Regions from separate parts of the Homo sapiens genome. Here region 2 is linked to region 1. The links are contacts of gene promoters, found by promoter capture Hi-C in blood cells and fetal thymus (Javierre and others, 2016). All regions are on one chromosome and are shown on one strand. The core of a region is centred on a gene start or on the middle of the fragment in contact, and the rest is flanking DNA. Distances in the headings are between cores, read along the strand shown. Region 1 holds the start of COPE (coat protein complex I subunit epsilon). Region 2 holds the start of MPV17L2 (MPV17 mitochondrial inner membrane protein like 2).

Region 1 (6,819 bases), core at 3,491-5,990:
TGTGGTGGCTCACACCTGTAAACCCAGTGCTTTGGGAGGCCAAAGCAGGAGCACTGCTTGAGCCCAGGAGTTTGAGACCAGCATAGGCAACATAGCAAAAAGCATAGTCTTTTTTTTTTTTTTTTTTTTGATGGAGTCTTGCTCTGTCACCCAGGTTGGAGTGCAGTGGCGTGTATCTCGGCTCACTACAACCTCTGCCGCCTGGGTTCAAGAGATTTTTCTGCCTCAGTCTCCCGAGTAGCCGCGACTATATGTATTTTTAGTAGAGATGGGGTTTCACCATATTGGCCAGGCTGGTCTTGAACTCCTGACCTTGTGAACCAGCCGCCTCGGCCTCCCAAAGTGCTGGGATTACAGGCATGAGCCACCGTGCCCGGTCTGAGACCCTGTGTCCATAAAAAAATTATAAATATTAGCCAGGTGTGGTAGCATGCACCTGTAGTCCCAGCGACTCAGGAGGTTCATGAAGGAGGATCGCTTGAGCCTGGGAGGTCGAGGCTACAGTGGACTATGATCATGCCACTGCACTGCACTCTGGCCTGGGTGACAGAGTGAGACCCTGTCTATCTTTAGGGAAAAAAAAGAGACAAAAGCTGGCTGTTGGGCTTTCAAAGTGAGGACACAGTGGGGCGCCATCGGGGGCACCAGGGTGGCCTCAGCCGCCCCTGTGTGAAATGCAGGTGCCCAGGAGACTGTGCGTGCGGAAGTGCTCAGAGGCTGCAGAGTGCACTGGAGAGACAAGAGTGCCGGGAAGCATAACAACAACAAATGTGCAGACCGTGACCCTGACGTGAGGCTCTGGAACCGTTGTGGTTTTCCTCGACTTCCAGGGACGATCCTACCATCAGGACGCATGTGTGTCCCCGGGGTGGGAGAGCATTGCTCTTCAACCCCAAGGGCTCACTACGATCACCTGGGAGCCCAGGAACCACCAAAGCCAGGAGGCCACATCCACCAAGGTCACCTGGCCCTAGGATGGCCCCAGCACTGGCCCCAGGTGGCTTAAGATGTGGCCATGGTTGAGGAATCAGGGTACTGTTTGGGAAGGCGGGTGACAGGATGGGGGCCCTGTAGCCAGAAACCTTGGGGGTAGTAACTCCTCCCTTCTGTCCCTGTAGCCAGTGATCTGACCGCACTGGGCCGTCAGCAACTCAAGGCCTATGAGCTGCTTCAACCCCAACAGCTGGGCGGTGCCTGCCATCTTGTGGGCAAACTGGCAAATGTCAGAAACCCAGAAACGTCATGATGGTAGCCTAGTGCTGGGGGCAGCAAAGGGCAAAGACTGCCAGGTGCTCTCCCTGGGGCCACCTCAGGTGGGGCTGAGGTTGCTCAGGCCACTGTCATGAACTACCACAGACCAGATGGCTTAAAAAATGTATTCCTCAAAAATTAGCCAGGTGTGGTGGCGCACGCCTGTAATCCCACCTACTCGGGAGGCTGAGGCAGGAGAATCGCTTGAACCCAGGAGGCAGAGGTTGTGGTGAGCTGAGATCATGCCACTACACTCCAGCCTGGGCAACAGAGCAAGACTCCATCTCAAAAACAAAAAAACAAAAATTAGCTGGGCGTGGTGGCAGGCACCTGTAATCCCAGCTACTCTGAAGGCTGAGGCAGGAGAATGGTGTGAACCCAGGAGGCGGAGGATGCAGTGAGCTGAGATTGTGCCACTGCACTCCAGCCTGGGTGACAGAGTTAGACTCTGTCTCAAAAAAAAAAAGTATTCCTGGCCAGGCGTGGTGGCTCACACCTGTAATCCCAGCACTGTGGGAGGCTGAGGCGGGCAGATCACTTGAGGTCAAGAGTTCGAGATCAGCCTGACCAACATGATAAAACCCTGTCTCTACTAAAAATACAAAAATTAGGCCAGGAACGGTAACTCATGCCTATAATCCCAGCACTTTGGGAGGCTGAGGCAGGCGGATCATGAGGTCAGGAGTTACAGACGAGCCTGGCCAACACAGTGAAACCCCATCACTAGGAAAAATACAAAAATTAGCTGGGTGTGGTGGCACACGCCTGTAGTCCCAGCTACTAGGGAGGCTGAGGCAGGAGAACTGCTTGAACCCGGGAGGCAGAGGTTGTGGTGAGCTGAGATCGTGCCACTGCACTCCAGCCTGGGCAACAGGGCAAGACTCCATCTCAAAAACAAAAAAACAAAAAAAAAATTAGCTGGGTGTGGTGGTGGGCACCTGTAATCCTAGCCACTTGGGAGGCTGAGGCAGGACAATCGCTTGAACCCAGGAGGAGGAGGATGCCACTGCACTCCAGCCTGGGTGACACAGAGTGAGATCCTGTCTCAAAAAAAAAAAAAAAAAAAAAAAAAGTATTCCTTCACAGTCACAGTCCTGGAGGCCAGAAGTCCCAAATCAAGGTGTCAGCAGGGCCACACTCCTTCCAAAGGCTCTAGGGGAGGATACTTCCCTGCCTCTCCCAGCTTTTGGTGACTGTTACATTCCTCAGTTTGTAGCCACATTACTCCCATCTCTGCTTCCATCATCTCTGTGTCTCAAATCTCCCTCTGCCTTTTTTTTTTTCTTTTTCCAGTGGCGGGTTCTGGTGAAGACAAGAAAGCCTACTAGAAACATTCTTTTTTTCTTTTTTTTTTTTTTTTTTTGAGATAGGGTCTCACTTTTGACATAGTAAGAGCACCAACATCTCAGACAAACACTGCCACTTTAAGTTCCAGCCCCCTTTCTAGCCTCATGAATTTTAAGGAAATTTCTTTTTTCTTTTTTTTTAATAGAGAAGTCTCGCTCTTGTTCCCCAGGCTTGAATGCAATGGCTGGATCTTGGCTCACTGCAACCTCCACCTCCTGGGTTCAAACGATTCTCCTGCCTCTGCCTCCCAAGTAGCTGGGATTAAGGTGCCTGCCACCATGCCCGGCTAATTTTTGTATTTTTTAGTAGAGACGGGGTTTCACCAAGTTGGTCAGGCTGGTCTCGAACTCCTGACCTCAGGTGATCCGCCCGCCTCCCAAAGTGCTGGAATTACAGGTGTGAACCACCGCGCCCGGCCAGGAAATCACTTCTAACTACAAGCAGCCAGAAAGAGGAGACAGTAAAACACAGAAAGACAGCTCGGACAGAGAGAGAGTGGGAAGAAAATTTCTTGGGTAACTGCCAAACTTCACCTTCATACAACGGGCCCCAGTAAAACAGTGGGCCTTAATAAGCACATTCCTTTCCCTTCAGGTGCACTAAAATAGGCAAGCTAAAAGCAGAGTAGGGGGGTATGCCTGCAGCTGCAGAAAGATGTATGGGAGGCTGGGCACGGTGGCTCACACCTGTAATCCCAACACTTTGGTAGGCCAAGGCGGGCAGATCACAAGGTCAAGAGATGGAGACCATCCTGGCCAACATGGTGAAACCCCGTCTCTACTAAAAATACAAAAATTAGCCGGGCCATGGTGGCGCGCGCCTGTAATCCCAGCTACTCGAGAGGCTGAGAAAGGAGAATTGCTTGAACCTGGGGGCGGAGGTTGCAGTGAGCCGAGATCACGCCACTGCACTCCAGCCTGGCAACAGCGCGAGTCTCCATCTCAAAAAAAAAAAAAAAAGAAAAGAAAAGAAAAGAAAAAAGAAAGATGTATGGGAACAGACACACAACTCTCCCTCCCAGATAAGCACAACGAAGAGACACAGAAGCAGTTCAAGCCTCTGATAAACTCTCCGACCCTGAATCCTTAAAAACTCTTAGTCTGTAAAAGAGTGTTACTCTGACCCAACTCCGCCAGAAGGCGCCTCTCAGGTTTGTTTTCTCTAAAATAAACCTGTCTTGACTGGCAAGCCACCTTTCGTGTTTCTTTCCTCTTTAATTCTTACAACTTTGTCACCCAGGCTGGAGTGCAGTGGCGCGATCTCGGTTCACTGCAACCTCGGCCTCCGGGTTGAAGCGATTCTCCTGTCTCAGCCTCCCGGTAGCTGAGATTACAAGTGCCCGCCACCACGCCCGGCTAATTTTTGGTAGACTCATGGTTTCTCCACGTTGCCCAAGCTGGTCTCGAACTCCTGGGCGCATGCGATCTGCCCGCCTCGGCCTCCCAAAGCGCCAGAATTACAGGCGTTTGAGCCACTGCGCTGGGAAACTGTGTTTATCATTCTGAGTCCAGCGGAATACAGTGCCCGTCCAAAAAAGTGCTCAATGAAGAATGAATGAATGAATGGGTAAGCTCTGGGAGAAATAACCAGGCTGGTTGGGCAGGGAAACGTCCTTCTCTGAACTTTAGGGTTCTCATCCGTAAAATGAGGATAAGCAACAGTCTCCATCTCACGGGAACTGAAGGTATGGCTGAACAAAATAGGCTTATTGTCACTACAGTGGCATAAACACCTCCCTTACTCAAAACACTTTCAAGGGCGCAGAGAGAACGCTGTACGAGTGAGCAGTACCGTAAACTGTTACTGCTCTGGGTTCTGTCACGGGACAGTGACTACTCCTCACTGAACTGTGGAAGAGGTGGCCCAAAAAACGCGAGAAGAAAAGAGAAAGTTTTTAGACGCAGAACGCGGCTCGCGGCCACCAGAAAGCGTCCTCCGCCTCCGCCCCCAGCGTCCCCGCGCCCCTGCGCGGCCGCACCTTCACCCGCTGCGCCTCGTTTATGCACTGCTGGTAGCTGCCGATGTAGAAGGCGTTCTTTACGTCGAACAGCTCGTCTACCTCCCCGGAGCCGCCGGAGGCCGGGCCGGGGGCCGGAGGCGCCATTTCGCTGTCTTCTCACCAGCTCCTCTTCCTGAAAGACACGTCAGCCGGAAGCAAGACACGGGCACGCTAGGAAATGTAGTTTACTTTTTCCGAGCGGCGGCGAAGTAAGCCAATGGGAAGCTCCACAATAATATGCAAGGGGGCGGAAGGCGTAAGTGCGTCACGGAGAGCATCTCGGGAATTGTAGTGTGTTTCTGCAAGCCAATGGGATCCGGGGAAACATGATAAGGATGCGGTCGAGGCTGGGAATAGGCTGAGGGAGCTGGAGAGGGTGGGACCACGCAGGAGGCAGATCCAATAAACAGGAAGATTTTTCTCGTGACGTCGTCGGCGCGCGCCGGAAGCGCGGATCACACGGGCCCCTACAAGGGGCCCCTACAAGCGGCCACAAGGATGGCAGGCTTCGCGGAGCTCGGGCTGTCATCGTGGCTCGTGGAACAATGTCGGCAGCTGGGTTTGAAGCAGCCCACGCCCGTGCAGCTCGGCTGCATCCCCGCCATCCTGGAGGGTGAGTATGGCCCAGGGCCTTCCCCAAGAGGCCTCTCCGCTCCTCTCGACTCCTTTCCCTTCTCGCAACCTTTGCTTATTCCGGTCCCACGAGGCGAGGGGCAACCTCGGGCGTTACAGGAGATCCGGGGTTCCGGAGGACGACTGGACAGTGTTGGCATTTAGGTTGCATGACTGACTCGCTTTGTGTTCGTACGCAAGTGATGTAATCTCTGAAATTTTCATAGTCTCAGCACAGGGAGGGTTTGATGGATGACTAGTCCGATAGTATCGCAAAATCCTGCAGACCTGGTACTGCTATCTTTATTTTACAAATAGAAGTTGAGGCTGTCAAAATTGCTGGTAGATCCAGGACTCCTTGGTCCTGTGATTGCTCCTCTAGGAGAAGGTCTTCTCTCTGCTCCTCTAGCCCAACCCAGTTTCGCCATTAAAGAGAGGCCCACAGGAAGCCTAAGATGTGATAAGTCAGGGATTAAATAAACAAATGAAGGGGTCAACAGGGAGCACAAGATGCATATGAGGGAAGGGAATTCTGGATTCCCCAAATTCACGTGCTCCTGGACGGAGTTAGAACGAGGTGGTAGGAAGCTGTGGGCATCTCGGGTCAAATGGATATGGGTTCCAGTCCAGCCTGCCACTCACTGGCAGTGTGTCCTGGGCAAGGTCTCTGAAACCCAGCTGTCCACACATGGAGGGTGTTGATGCTGCTTTGTCCCCAACCCAGGTCGAGACTGCTTGGGCTGTGCTAAGACAGGCAGTGGGAAGACAGCAGCGTTTGTCCTTCCCATCTTGCAGAAGCTGTCTGAGGATCCCTATGGCATCTTCTGCCTCGTCCTGACACCCACCAGGTAAGCCCCCAGCAGGCCTCCTGGGTATGGGTTAACCAGCTGTGCTCTCTTGGGCAAGCACCTTTCCCTCTCTGAGCGCCCTTTTCCCACGTGTGAGATGAGCATGAAAATCTTGCTACCCGCTTCTTAGGGGTCCTGCAGAATTAAACAAGATGGCCCCGGTGCAGTGGCTCACACCTGTAATCCCAGCACTTTGGGAGCTCCAGGTGAGCGGATCACTTGAGGCCAGGAGTTTGAGACCAGCCTGACCAACATGGAGAAACCCCGTCTCTACTAAAAATACAAAAAATTAGCTGGGCATGGTAGCGCATGCCGTAATCCCAGCTACTCGGGAGGCCGAGGCAGGAGAATCGCTTGAACCCAGGAGGCGGAGGTTGCGGTGAGCCAAGATCGTGCCATTGCACTCCAGCCTGGGCAACAAGAGCAAAACTCTGTCTCAAAAAAAAAAAAAAGAAAGAAAGAAAGAGGCAGGCAGCAGAAAGGGTACTGGGACCTGGGCATATTGGAGCCAGTTTGAGAAAGGCCTTGAATGCCAGGCGGAGGGTTAGAATTGATTCTGGGGGTGTGTGAGCAGGAAAGGTCATGAGCCAGGGAGAGGCCAGGACAGAGTTGGTTGGGGGCAGAAAGGAGGCTGATGCTTGAGACCCTCTGGCTGGGGCAACTGGCTGGTGGTGAGGCCATTGCTGAAAGGCGAACTGGGGGAAGGCACAGGTTTGGGATAGGAAGAGATGCTGAGGTCAGCTTGGGTCGGGCTGGTGAAGG
Region 2 (7,289 bases), core at 4,405-6,904, 730 kb before region 1:
CTCACTGCAAACTCCGCCTCCCAGGTTCAAGCGATTCTCCTGCCTCAGCCTCCAAGTAGCTCAGATTACAGACATGCACCACCACACCTAGCTAATTTTTGTATTTTTAGTAGAGATGGGGTTTTGCCATGTTGGCCTGACTGGCCTTGAACTCCTGACCTCAAGTGATCCACCCGCCCCAGCCTCCCAAAGTGCTCGGATTACAGGCATGAGCCACCGTGCCTGGCCAATAAATTCTTAATTTATCCACCATTGTCTCTCAGCAACCAGTAATCCATTTGTAGATTACCAAATGGTCAGCTCAATGTCAAACAAAACTATGGGAGACCACTGTTTTGGACTGAGCTCCTGCACTAGGCACCAACAGACCAGATGAAACCAGAATGGAGTCACTCGTGCTAAATGCCACATAATCAAACTGAAACTTTGAGGAAGCAGACATATCCCAAACAGATCAGTTTCTTATTTTTTTTTTTTTTAAATTTGTTTTGTAGAGATGAGGTTCTGGCCAAGTTGCCCAGGCTGGTCTTGAACTCCTGGCCTCAAGCGATCCTCCTGCCTCAGCCTCCCAAGGTGCTGGTATTATAGGCATGGTCCACTGTGCCCAGCTGTCTTTCCTAAAAATAGATTTTAGTCTACCTGGGCCGGGCACGGTGGCTCATGCCTGTAATCCCAGCACTTTGGGAGGCCGAGGTGGGCGGATCACAAGGTCAGGAGATCGAGACCATCCTGGCTAACATGGTGAAACCCCCTCTCTACTAAAAATACAAAAAATTAGCCAGGCGTGGTGGCTGGTGCCTGTGGTCCCAGCTACTGGGGAGGCTGAGGCAGGAGAATGGCGTGAGCCCGGGAGGCGGAGCTTGCAGCGAGCCGAGATCGCGCCACTGCACTCCAGCCTGGGCGACAGAGCGAGACTCTGTCTCAAAAAAAAAAGATTTTAGTCTACCTGAATTAGCCCGATAAGGAAGTCCCCTCTGCTTTAACACTTACCAAAAAAAGTAACCTGAAGTTAATCAGGTTTTTCTTTTTCTTTCTTTCTTTCTTTCTTTTTTTTTTTTTTTTTTTTTGAGATAGAGTCTAGCTCTGTCGCCAGGCTGGAGTGCAAGTGGCACGATCTTGGCTCACTGCAACCTCCACCTCCCCGGGTTCACGCCATTCTCCTGCCTCAGCCTCTCTGAGTAACTGGGACTACGGGCGCCCGCCACCACACCCGTCTAATTTTTTGTATTTTTAGTAGAGACGGGGTTTCACTGTGGTCTCGATCTCCTGACCTCATGATCCGCCCACCTCGGCCTCCCAAAGTGCTGGGATTACAGGCGTGAGCCACCGCACCGGCCTTATTATTATTATTATTTTTTAAGATATTCTGTAGTTATGGATTGGAAAAATCCATATTGTCAAAATGTCCATACTACACAAAGCAACCTACAGATTCAATGCAATTTCCATCAAAATACAATACCAATGACATTCTTCACACAAAACAGAAAGAACAGTTCTAAAAAACAGTCCTAAATTTATATGAAATCACAAAAGACCTTGAATAGCCAAAACTATCCTGAGCAAACAGAACAAAACTGGAGGAATCCCATTACCCAACATTCAATTATACTATAGATCTACAGTAACAAAAACAGCATAGTACCAGCACAAAAATAGACACATACATAAATGGAACAGAATGGAGAACCCAGAACCAAATCCATACATCTACATTGAATTCTTTTTTACTATTATTATACTTTAAGTTCTGGGATCCATGTGCAGAACGTGCAGAAGGTGCAGGTTTGTTACATAGGTATGTATACACGTGCCATGGTGGTTTGCTGCACCCATCAACCGGTCATCTACATTAGGTATTTCTCCTAATGCTGGCCGGGTGCGGTGGCTCACGCTTGTAATCCCAGCACTTTGGGAGGCCGAGGCGGGCTGATCACGAGGTCAGGAGATCGAGACCAAGGTGAAACCCCGTCTCTACTAAAAATACAAAAAATTAGACGGGCGTGGTGGCGGGCGCCTGTAGTCCCAGTTACTCGGAGAGGCTGAGGCAGGAGAATGGCGTGAACCCGGGAGGCGGAGCTTGCAGCCAGCCGAGATCGCGCCACTGCACTCCAGCCTGGATGACAGAGCGAGACTCCGTCTCAAAAAAAAAAAAAAAAAAAAGAAGTTATTTCTCCTAATGCTATCCCTCCCCTATCCCACCCTCTGACAGGTCCCGGAATGTGATGTTCCCCTCCCTGTGTCCATGTGTTCTCATTGTTCAACTCCCACTTTCTTTTTCTTTTTTTTTTTTTTTGAGACAGTCTGGCTCTGTCACCCAGGCTGGAGTGCGGTGGCGCAATCTCGGCTCACTGCAGCCTCTGCCTCCAGGGTTCAAGCGACTCCCCTGCCTCACCCTCCGGAGTAGCTGGAATCACAGGTGGGGGCCACCACACCCAGTGGTTTGTTTGTTTGTTTGTTTGTTTGTTTGTTTGTTTTTTGAGACGGAGTCTCGCCCTGTTGCCAGGCCGGAGTGCAGTGGTGAGATCTCGGCTCACTGCAACCTCCACCTCCCGGGTTCAAGCGATTCTCCTGCCTCAGCCTCTTGAGTAGCTGGGACTACAGGCGTGTGCCACCGTGCCCAGCTCATTTTTGTATTTTTAGTAGAAACGGTGTTTCACCGTGTTGACCAGATTGGTCTCAATCACTTGGCCTCATGATTCGGACGCCTTGGCCTCCCTAAGTACTGGGATTACAGGCCTGAGCCACCTCGCCCGGCATTGATCAGGTTTTTTTTGTATTGTTCTGTTTATTTGTCCCACTTTACGAAACTCACTGTTCTCCTATTGCCCAGGGGGACATGTCATTTTATCTATTCTCAGTAACTCATGCCTGTAATTCCAGCACTTTTGGATGCAAAAGTGGGCGGATTGCTTCAGTACAGTTCAAGGCTAGCCTGGGCAACATAGTGAGACCCTGTCTCTACTAAAGAGGAAAAAAAAACAAAACCTTTCTTTAAATAAAAGTTTTAAATTGGGGGAAGGAAGGAAGAAGGCTCTATCTCAAAAAAAAAATCAGAAAACCATGAAGGGTGTCCTCTGACTGGGCAAATTTTTGTTGTAAAAACCCATATTGTAGGCTGGGCATGGTGGCTCACTCTTGTAATCCCAGCACTTTGGGAGGCCGAGGCAGGTGGATTTGAGATCAGGGGTTCAAGACCAGCCTGAGTAACATGGTGAAACCCCGTCTCTACAAAACTACAAAAAATAGCTAGGCATGGCGGCGGGTGCCTGTAATCCCAGCTACTCATGAGGCTGAGGCAGGAGAATCGCTTGAACCTGGAAGGCAAATGTTGCTGTGAGCTGATATTGTGCCACTGCACTCCAGCCTGGGCAACAGAGTAAGACTCCGTCTCAAAAAAAAAAAAAAGCCATATTTCAGTTTTACTTTTTACAGGCCAACAAATGGCATGATTGTGTTTCAATGACGTTTGGCTTATTCTATGACCTGAAAATTATATGAAATGCAAATTTGTGTCCATAAGTAAAACTTTATTGAAACACAATCATGCCATTTGTTGACAAAAAGAGTGAAACTCTGTAAAATATGGGCCGGGCGCGGTGGCTCACGCCTGTAATCCCAGCACTTTGGGAGGCCGAGGCGGGCGGATCATGAGGTCAGGAGATCGAGACCATCCTGGCTAACACGGTGAAACCCTGTCTCTACTAAAAATATAAAAAATTAGCCGGGTTTGGTGGCGGGAACCTGTAGTCCCAGCTACTCGCCAGGCTGAGGCGGGAAAATGGCGTGAACCCGGGAGGTGGAGCTTGCAGTGAGCCAAGATCGCGCCACTGCACTCTAGCCTGGGCCACAGAGCGAGACTCTCTCAAAAAAAAAAAAGAAACTCCGTAAAATATTTAAAGAGGTTAATTCTGAGCCAAACGTGAGTGACCACGGCCCTAGGCACAGCCTTTTTTTTTTTTTTTTTTTTTTTTTTTTGAGACAGTCTCGCTCTGTGGCCCAGACTGGAGCTATCTCGGTTCACTGCAACCTCCACCTCTCGGGTTCAAGAGATTACCCTGCCTCAGCCTCCCGAGTGGCTGGGATTACAGGCGCCCACCACCACGCCCCTGGCTAATTTCTGTATTTTTAATAGAGATGGGGTTTTACCATGTTGGCCAGGCTGGTTTTGAATTCCTGACCTCAGGTGATCCAGCTGCCTCCGCCTCCCAAACTGTTTGGGATTACAGGCGTGAGCCACTGCGCCTGGCCAATCCCCACCTTCTTGACTGACCATTTAAAAAATGTAAGAAACACCTTTAGCTCATCATGAGCAGCACAAAACAGGCAGGGACAGGATTTGGCCCTGAGGCAGGAGAATAGGTCTGGAGGCAGGGAACATAAGGCCAAATCAAATGGAAACAATTCAGCTATGACAGGAAATATCTTCTCCATTTAAAGAGGGCATACATCCAGTAAATGACTTTGTAACTTTACTTCATCCTCTTCATTTACATAGGACGTACATTAAGTAACCAGTGAAAACCTCTAGAGGGCATTTAAACCCCAGAAAATTCTTAAACAGGTCTCTTGAGTCCGTATGCTCCACTGGCTCCCACCCTGCGGAGTGTACTTTCGTTTTCAATAAATCTCTGCTTTTGTTAAGCTTCATTCTTTCCTTGCTTTGTTTGTGCACTTTGTCCAATTCTTTGTTCAAGATGCCAAGAACCTGCACACCTTCAACAGTTAACAGCCCACAGGCAGTAGTTTGCGACTCTAGTAGAGAATGCATAGGGATTTCCATTGAAAATCATTTTTTAAGCCAGTTACGGTGGTTCACGCCTATCATCATCCCAGCACCTTGGGAGGCCAAGGCGGGTGGATCTCTTGAGGTCAGGAGTTCGAGACCAGCCTGGCTAACATGGCAAAACCCCTGTCTAGACCAAAAATACAAAATTAGTTGGGCGTGGTGGCCCGTGCCTGTAATCCCAGCTGTTTGGGAGGCTGCGACACGAGAATCGCTTGAACCCGGGAGGGAGAGGTTGCGGTGAGCCGAGATCGCGCCACCGCACTCCAGCCTGGGTGACAGAGCGAGACTCCATTTCAAAAAAAGAAAAAAAATAATTGTTCCCTACGGGAACGGTATAATTAGGATATAATTGTTTCTGGCCACAGATCACATCCCTTCTGGTTAAGTCCAGGAGAATCTGGAAATACGTAGGGCAACCAGGCCAGAAGGCGTTGTAACTGCCTAAGATTGACCAACCCTAACGCGGGAGGCGGGACGACGGTCACTGATTTGCCAGCGTGACGCCGGTCTGCGACTGGCCAGTGCCGTCCTGGGCGTGTCGGTAGGACGGGGCTGCGACGGTTTCCCATAGGCTGGCACAGAAAGGGGCGGGGAAACAAGAGTGCAACGTTACCAATCGGCATGCGGGACGTAACGCAATTCTTTTTTCCGATTGGTCCGTGAAGCTCGGGAGGTCGTTGGGGGCTCGACCTTGGGATAGAACGCCTGCCTTTTATTGGTCAATACTCTTCGGGCCGGGCAATGTGGCTCCCCGAGGCTGCCTGCGATTGGTGAACGCGTCGCGGCTCGGGGCGGACCTGCGGACTGAAGATCCTTATGCGATTGGCCGGGGAGCCGGAGGGGCGGGCAATTTGGGATCGACAGTGACTCGCGACTGGTCGGCGCGGCGAAAGCAGAGCGGCGCGCCGGTTCCTTGGTTCCTGAGGGCGATGGCGCGGGGTGGCTGGCGCCGGCTACGCCGCCTGTTATCCGCGGGGCAGCTTCTATTCCAGGGCCGCGCGCTGCTCGTCACTAACACGCTGGGCTGCGGCGCGCTCATGGCGGCCGGTGATGGCGTGCGCCAGTCCTGGGAGATCCGCGCCCGGCCCGGCCAGGTTTTCGACCCACGGCGCTCCGGTGAGGACGCCACGCTGCTTAGTCCTTCACCCCGGGCGACCTTTGATCCCGACACCCGACTGCGGGCCGTGACCCCTGACCCGTGGCCTCAGTCCCCCGCAGGACCCTTGCCCTGACCGCGCCTCTCCCCGGGTGTCTGTCTCCCCGCAGCTCTGGGTCTCCATCACCTCCCAACCCCCGGAGGTCTCTGCCCACTACCCAGGAGCCTCTGGAGCCGCGCCTCCTGGTGGGGCTTGTAGTGGAAGAATGCACGGGTGGGCTCTTCCGGTTTTCCCGGTGAGGCTGAGGCTCCGGGATGGCATTGGGCTTACCCAGGCCTTAGCCAGGGAGGGAGAGAGGGAATGGACTGAGGAACTTGCCGGCCCGACCCAGCCCCCTGACTTACACTCTTATAGCGAGCATGTTTGCGGTGGGCTGCAGCATGGGTCCCTTCCTGCACTACTGGTACTTGTCGCTGGACCGCCTATTCCCTGCGTCTGGCCTCCGAGGCTTCCCAAATGTCCTCAAGAAGGTCCTCGTGGATCAGCTGGTAGCCTCTCCATTGCTGGGCGTCTGGTACTTCTTGGGTAAGGAGCCTCCTAAGCCTAGGCTTTGCCTCTCATAGGTCGGGAGGGGTGGAGCCAGCTTTGTGTTAAGAAGGATGCAGAGGTGCATTTCCAATTTGCCCCCTGTTTGGGTCGCCCTGGACTAGGAGCCAGGTCACAGCGGGGACAGGACGGACTCGGCCGATGTGAACGCTGGCGAGTGTAGGAGGGACGAGGACTGTATCTGTTGGGGCTGCCCTGGGCGGGAGGTTGAGAGCATTTCCCAAAGAAGGGGACCACACTCAGTTGAGACATGAAGAGGGAACCAGCGGGCAGAGGGAACAGCTAATGCAAAGGCTCTGAGGCCTGAAGGAAGAGAAATTGAGGCTAGACTTAATGGGGTGCAACCGTGCCAGCCCTAGGCTCGGTAAAGACAGCGGTATTAATAGAGGAGTCTCTCATTCTCCACCTCCCAGCCCGGCTTCCTGGTCTGTGATGGAAAAGTAACACAACTCCCTCAACTTCAGGGTGTCTCCATTGGGGCACGTGTTTATATGTTTATAACCTCTCTTTCTCTCACTGGGACTGACTTGCTCTGTTTTGTCTCTACACCAGCTACCCTAATTCTCTGTCCATCCCATCTGAAAGTCCCTGTCCCTCTGCCCGGGGTGGGCGGCGTGGGCTCTCAGGGGCCCAACCCCGCCCCCTCCATCGTCAGCCCATCTTGTCGTCTCAACAGTACTTCCTGGCCTCTAACACTCTCATTTCTTGGTTTGCTTCCCAGGCCTTGGCTGCCTGGAGGGTCAGACAGTGGGTGAGAGCTGCCAGGAGCTGCGGGAGAAGTTCTGGGAATTCTACAA

The links. The method cuts DNA at HindIII sites, captures the fragments that hold promoters and counts their contacts. A CHiCAGO score of 5 or more calls a contact.
Region 2: a contact is called between the fragment with the promoter of MPV17L2 here and the fragment with the promoter of COPE in region 1, in 1 of 17 cell types (total CD8 T cells). The highest score is 6.7, in total CD8 T cells.

The regions. Positions count from the first base shown.
Region 1 is chr19:18,914,647-18,921,465 of GRCh38, forward strand. COPE (coat protein complex I subunit epsilon) reads right to left here and starts at 4,741. Exons shown (of 10, transcript NM_007263.4): 1 at 4,577-4,741. The coding sequence starts at 4,702. DDX49 (DEAD-box helicase 49) reads left to right here and starts at 5,069. Exons shown (of 13, transcript NM_019070.5): 1 at 5,069-5,210; 2 at 5,934-6,057. The coding sequence starts at 5,096. RefSeq lists enhancers at 2,951-3,841, 4,744-5,343 and a silencer at 4,474-4,663. The HindIII fragment of the contact is 20,861 bases long and covers 1-6,819 here.
Region 2 is chr19:18,187,564-18,194,852 of GRCh38, forward strand. MPV17L2 (MPV17 mitochondrial inner membrane protein like 2) reads left to right here and starts at 5,655. Exons shown (of 5, transcript NM_032683.3): 1 at 5,655-5,905; 2 at 6,301-6,471; 3 at 7,214-7,289. The coding sequence starts at 5,719. RefSeq lists a silencer at 5,180-5,359 and an enhancer at 5,750-5,799. The HindIII fragment of the contact is 3,564 bases long and covers 4,644-7,289 here.